2 separate regions of the Homo sapiens genome follow, and region 1 is linked to region 2. Evidence: promoter capture Hi-C in human tissues and cell types (Jung and others, 2019). All regions are on one chromosome and are shown on one strand. The core of a region is centred on a gene start or on the middle of the fragment in contact, and the rest is flanking DNA. Distances in the headings are between cores, read along the strand shown. Region 1 overlaps NRF1 (nuclear respiratory factor 1). Region 2 holds the start of STRIP2 (striatin interacting protein 2).

Region 1 (2,701 bases), core at 98-2,597, 190 kb before region 2:
AAGGCATTATTGTCCCTGTCTTAAAATTAAGGCAATTCAGCCAGGGATGGTGGCTCATGCCTGTAATCCCAGCACTGTGGCAGGCCAAGGTGGGAGGATCACTTGAAGCCAGGTGTTTGAGACCAGCCTGGCCAACACAGTAAGACCCTGTCTCTAAAACAAAAATTAAAACATGGGGCTGGGTGTGGTGGCTCATGCTTGTAATCCCAGCACTTTGGGAGGCCAAGGCGGGTGGATCACAAGGTCGGAAAATCAAGACCATCCTGGCTAACATGGTGAAACCCCATCTCTACTAAAAATACCAAAAAATTAGCCAGGTGTGGTGGCAGGCACCCGACGTCCCAGCTACTCGGGAGGCTGAGGCAGGAGAATGGCGTGAACCCGGGAGGCAGAGCTTGCAGTGAGCTGAGATCGCACCACTGCACTCCAGCCTGGGCAACAGAGCGAGACTCCGTCTCAAAAAAAAAAAAAAAAAAAAAAAATTAAAACATTAGCCGGGCATGGTGGCACATGCCTGCAGTCCCAGCTACTCAGGAGGCTAACACAGGAAGACTGCCCGAGCCCAGGAGTTTAAGGCAACAGTGAGCCATGACTGAGCCACTGCACTCCAGTTGGGGAGACAGAAAGAGACTGTTTCTAAAAAACTAATAAATTTAAAAATAAATAAATAAATAAAATTAAGATGATTCAGACTCAGAAAAGTTAAATAACATGCTCAAGGTTGCAAACTTAGTAAGTGACATTAACAGAATTTAAGCCCAGAGCTCCTATAGTGGGTTGGACTGTGGCTCCCAAAAAGATATGTTCACATGCTTACCATTGGCACCTGTGAATACTACCTCACTTGAAGAAAGCGTCCTTAGAGATGTAACTAAGGATCTTGAGATCATCCTGAAATATCTAGGTGGGTTCTAAATCCAGTGACAAGTGTCCTTTTAAGGGTGAAGCAGATAGAGATTACACGGAGAGGAGACAATGAGACCATGGAGGCAGAAACTGGAGTGATGTAGCCACAAGTCAAGGAATGCCACCAAAGGCTGGAAGAGACAAAGAACAGATTCTCCCCCAGAGTCTCCTGAGGGAGCGCCACCCTGTGAACACCTTGATTCCAGACTCCTAGCCTCCAGAACTGTGAGAGAATACATTTCTGTTTCTTGAAACCACTAAGTTTGTGGTTTTATGGCAGCCCCAGGAAACGAATGCAGTCCACAAACTCTCTCTCTCCAGCATTCCCTATTGCCTTCCCAAGGTTGAAGGATCTAGGGATATGTAAACTAAAATAGGGACGACTCGGACAATAAGGAAAATGAAAACTATACTTGCTTTTGCAAGCCCTAGAGAACAGAGTAAAATCAGTAGGTAAAAATTTTAGGGATACCACTTGGGAGACTGAGGCAGGAGGATCCCTTCAGCACAGGAGTCTGAGAGCAGCCTGGGCAACACAGAGACGTTGTCTCCAAAAAATAATAATAATAATAAAAAGGCTCAGGGAGAAATTTCAGTTGGGAAAACTTTCCAACCATCCAAATATCTTAAAGACCAACCAGACTTTTGGTAGGTGGTTACGTTTCCTATCACTGGATGTGTTCAAGAAGAGACTGAAGACTTTTAACTTTGGAGAGCAGAGCTTTCTTAGATGATTTAGAATCTCTTCCCATCCTGAGTTCCTAAAATTATAAAATGTTAGATAGTACCACAAAAGCCTAAGTAAAGTAAAATATTACAAATGAGTTTCGCCAGGTTTCTACAATCATTCAAATAAATACTGCTTGCTATGTCTCAGGCACTGTGCTTGGTAATGAACACCAACACAGTATCTACTCTCACGAAGCTTACAATCTGGTGGAACAGACATATATCAAGCAATATGCAAACAAATGTAAAATTATATATATATGACCACCTATGATGAAGGAAAAACGCAAAAAAGAGGGAGACCAGGTAAAACTTCCCTAAGGAAATGATGTTTGAGCAGAGACCTGATGGATTTAGTCATCCTTTGGTATCTGGGGGTGAATCAAAATCCACAGATGCTCATGTCCCTTTCAGCTGGGCCTCCATATCCACAGGTTCTGTATTCTCGGATGGAAAATACCATACCATCTGGCTACAAAATGGATTTCTTCAGAATGAAAGCAATCATTGTGGTGGATTCTCAAGTGAGAATTAGCTCTTGCTTTCATACCTTTCAGATACAGAAGTTTAAGAGAGAAAAAGTTTGCACTTTTTATTCTCAGATTCTCTACCTCCCGCCATGTCTGGAAGATACTGATTTAAGAATCTTGTGAAGCATACATTCTAAAAGTTCTTCTTTTGGAAAAGATCTTAATCTTTCAAAGTAGAAGGGAAGAGAATAAACAAGTCGGACTTTGTCATCGTCACCTCTACAGGCTTTACTATACTTAAGAGAAAAAAATGACATTAGTTTAGATACTAAATGCAGTCACTAAGAAATGATTTACCCTAGATTTGCTTTCCATTTTGTATAAAAAATAAAAACAAAAACAAATCAGTTACCAGAGGGATTAAAAACAGAATTAAATGAGTAGGCAGGAAAATTGGGTTACACTACTAGCTCTAAATAGGATTCTACCATATAAATTTTTTAAGAAAGATACCTTTGAGAAAGTTCCAGTTATTCTTTACACAGAATTAGAATTATATATATCACATATTTCACTGAGTGTATGAGTTGGATTAC
Region 2 (2,700 bases), core at 180-2,679:
TTCAAATGGTAAGGCAAGGTCTGGGATGCCAAAAACCTGGTTTCTAGTACCAGCTCTGCCACTTGATGATGATGATGATGATGATGATAGCAATATACTAAGAGTTACTATGTACTGACTAATTACATGCATTGTGCCTGCACTGTGCCAAACATTTTATAGTCAATTATCTCATTTTGACTTTATCACAACCTTCTGAGGTAGGCAGTGTTAATCTCATCTTACAGATGAAGAAACTGGAGCTCAGAGAGGTTCCGTAATGTGCCGAAAATCACACAGGTAGTAAATGATAGGGCTAGGAGTCAAAACCTGGTCTGACTACTCCAAAGTCTGGTGTTCTTGACCACCAACTATGCCAGATGTCTGATCTTGGGCAAGTCACTCCTCTTTTTTTTAGGTCTGTAAAATGAAAGGGTTATACCAGATGATATCTGCAGACCCTGCCACATCTGATATTTTGTCGTCTATTCTGATCCCCGCTCAGATCCAACTGATGGGAACTGCCTCAATGAGGGGATAGGGAAGTGATAATAATTCAACGCTTTCATCTTCATAGATAGGGTTTCTTTTTTCAGGAGAGGAGGAAGAGATCGAAATATTCACACTCCTATCTGTATCCTGCGACTGCTCCCTCCAGATAGCCACTCCAGGACTGCCCCTGCCTGAATCCCGTCTCGCTCAGCCCTCACAGGCAGGGGCCTGATGTCCGCGGAAGGCGCTCCCGAAACGGCCTAAGACTTACGGGGGGAAGGGGACGGGCAGGGAACGGGCAGAAGTCCCTCGGCTGGCCCAGGGGCCCGCCGCAGGCAGCCTGGGAGGGGGACTGCGGTTGCCCCACTCGCCAATCCTGCTTTCCTGCGGCTGAGCTCCAGCCTCCCACCCCTCAAGCCAGTCACTTAACCTCTCCGCTCCTGTTCCCCCGTCTATAAACTGGGATCGGAATTTCTGCTTCAGGGGGCTGCAGCGATTAAGTGAGATAAATATTTGGAAAGTATCTGGTCCGCTCAATACCGCGCTCATCTTCGCGCAGCGGGGGAAAGCCAGAGGGCTAGAAAGCCCCCAACCCGCGGCAGGAGACGGGCGGACACTGGTCCGGGCCAAAGAGCCCAGAGTTCAGCCGCTAGGACCCCGCAGGCGCCCACTGCGCGGGGCTGATCGAGCGCGCCGAGGGCTCCGGGGCCGAGGCCGAATCACCTCAGCCGCCGCTTCCCGCCGGCGGGCGTCTCCGGGCCCCAGCCGAAGCTTTCCGGGCTCCTCACCTCTGACTCCCGCCGCTGGCTTCGGAACGCTTCGCGGCCCTTGGGCGCCGCCTGCTTCCCTTTGCCGCCGCCGTTGCCATTGCCATTTGCGGGCGGGCCCCCGGTCCCAGGCGCGGCGGGGTCCTCCATGCTGCTGGTCAGCGGCTCCCCTCAGGGTTCAGCTCGCTTTGCCGGAGGCGACCCTACCGCCGCGCGCCGGGAGCCAGGCCCCGCCCCCTCCACCTCTATTGGTTACGGCAGCTCGCCGCAACCCCGCCCCGCGAGGCGATTGGCTGCTCGACCGGCCGGAGCGGGACTCGAGGAGGTGGGGGCTCAATGAAGAGATTTTTGAGGGGATCTTTTTAGTCCTGCGGCATTGCTGGCGGACGGAGACTCCTAGGTTAGCTACAGGCTCCACACCTCGCGAAAGCTGGGCCTTGAGATCAGGCGGGTTATCTCTGTGCTCCTCACTCGGTGTCTCTCAGCTCTCACCCCCGTCCCTGTAGCGACCTTTTCCGGAGCTCTAGTCTCCGCCTACTGCTCCACAGCAGTCTCCGTTTCCCTGTTACCACCGACCCGGCCCCCCATATCCCGGCTCCTGCACACGTCCCATATCCCGCTTAGTCTCAGGGGAGGGATGGCACCGCCAGGTGGCCAGGGACATCGCCCGAAACGAGGGACTCGCTGTCTCTGGAAGCTGAGAATTCTCAGCGTTTTTCTGAAGAGAACGCATCTCGCCCGGAGCTAGGGCTTGGCTGGGAGACTGGAGGTCTAAGGGTGGGATGGGGGAGTTTTTCCATCACTGAAATTGGTGGTGCCCTCGAGGGCTGCTCCTGTCATCTGCCCTTCTCTGCTGTAGGGGGCCTCTTCCTCATGGTGTGTAAATGTTGAGGGTAGAGCAAGCCCCCACCCTCACCTGCTCGCCAGTCCTTTCTTTCCTTCCTCTCTCTTAGATGCTTCCTAAGGGCTCATTGTTACTGGGGGCAAAAGAGGCTGTTTGATCTGCCCTCTCCTGAATTTAAAAAGTAGCTTGTAGTAAATATTTAGACAGTCTGGCTTGGTAATAGAAGCCCCAAAGACGTAGGCTCAGGGGAACAGGTGGGACCAAATCGCTGTCCCCAGCCTGGTTGCTTTAGGAAGGGTCTGGGGGATTGTTGAACTGAGCTTGGTGCCAGGCACTGCAGTAAGCGCTTTCCAAATATCACATCATACCTCTCCCCGACAGGGTGTTTTTACGAATCCAATGTTACTGATGAAGAAACCGGCACTTGCAGATTCCTCCCTGCGGTTTCCAAGGTATCATATTCTATCTTGTCTCAGGGTCTTGCCTATGCTGTTCTCTGGAGGAGACTGTCTTCTGTTCTCCTGGTTGATTCCTTTTCTCTCATAAAGATTCTAGTTAGTTGTCACCTCCTCCTCCTCCACAAAGCTTTCCTTTTAGCCCTCAACTCATTCAGGTTGT

What was found. Contacts are between HindIII fragments. The study calls those that stand out against the background at their distance.
Region 1: a contact is called between a fragment that was not itself captured here and the fragment with the promoter of STRIP2 in region 2, in 2 of the 25 tissues and cell types used here (IMR-90 fibroblasts and thymus).

What each region holds. Positions count from the first base shown.
Region 1 is chr7:129,623,457-129,626,157 of GRCh38, reverse strand. The region is part of intron 1 of NRF1 (nuclear respiratory factor 1); the gene reads right to left. Among named protein-coding and RNA genes, the nearest start is that of NRF1, 13 kb to the right of the region's middle. The HindIII fragment of the contact is 7,216 bases long and covers 1-2,701 here.
Region 2 is chr7:129,433,161-129,435,860 of GRCh38, reverse strand. It overlaps STRIP2 (striatin interacting protein 2), which reads right to left and starts at 1,429. Exons shown (of 21, transcript NM_020704.3): 1 at 1,260-1,429. The coding sequence starts at 1,388. RefSeq lists a silencer at 1,070-1,549. The HindIII fragment of the contact is 3,182 bases long and covers 331-2,700 here.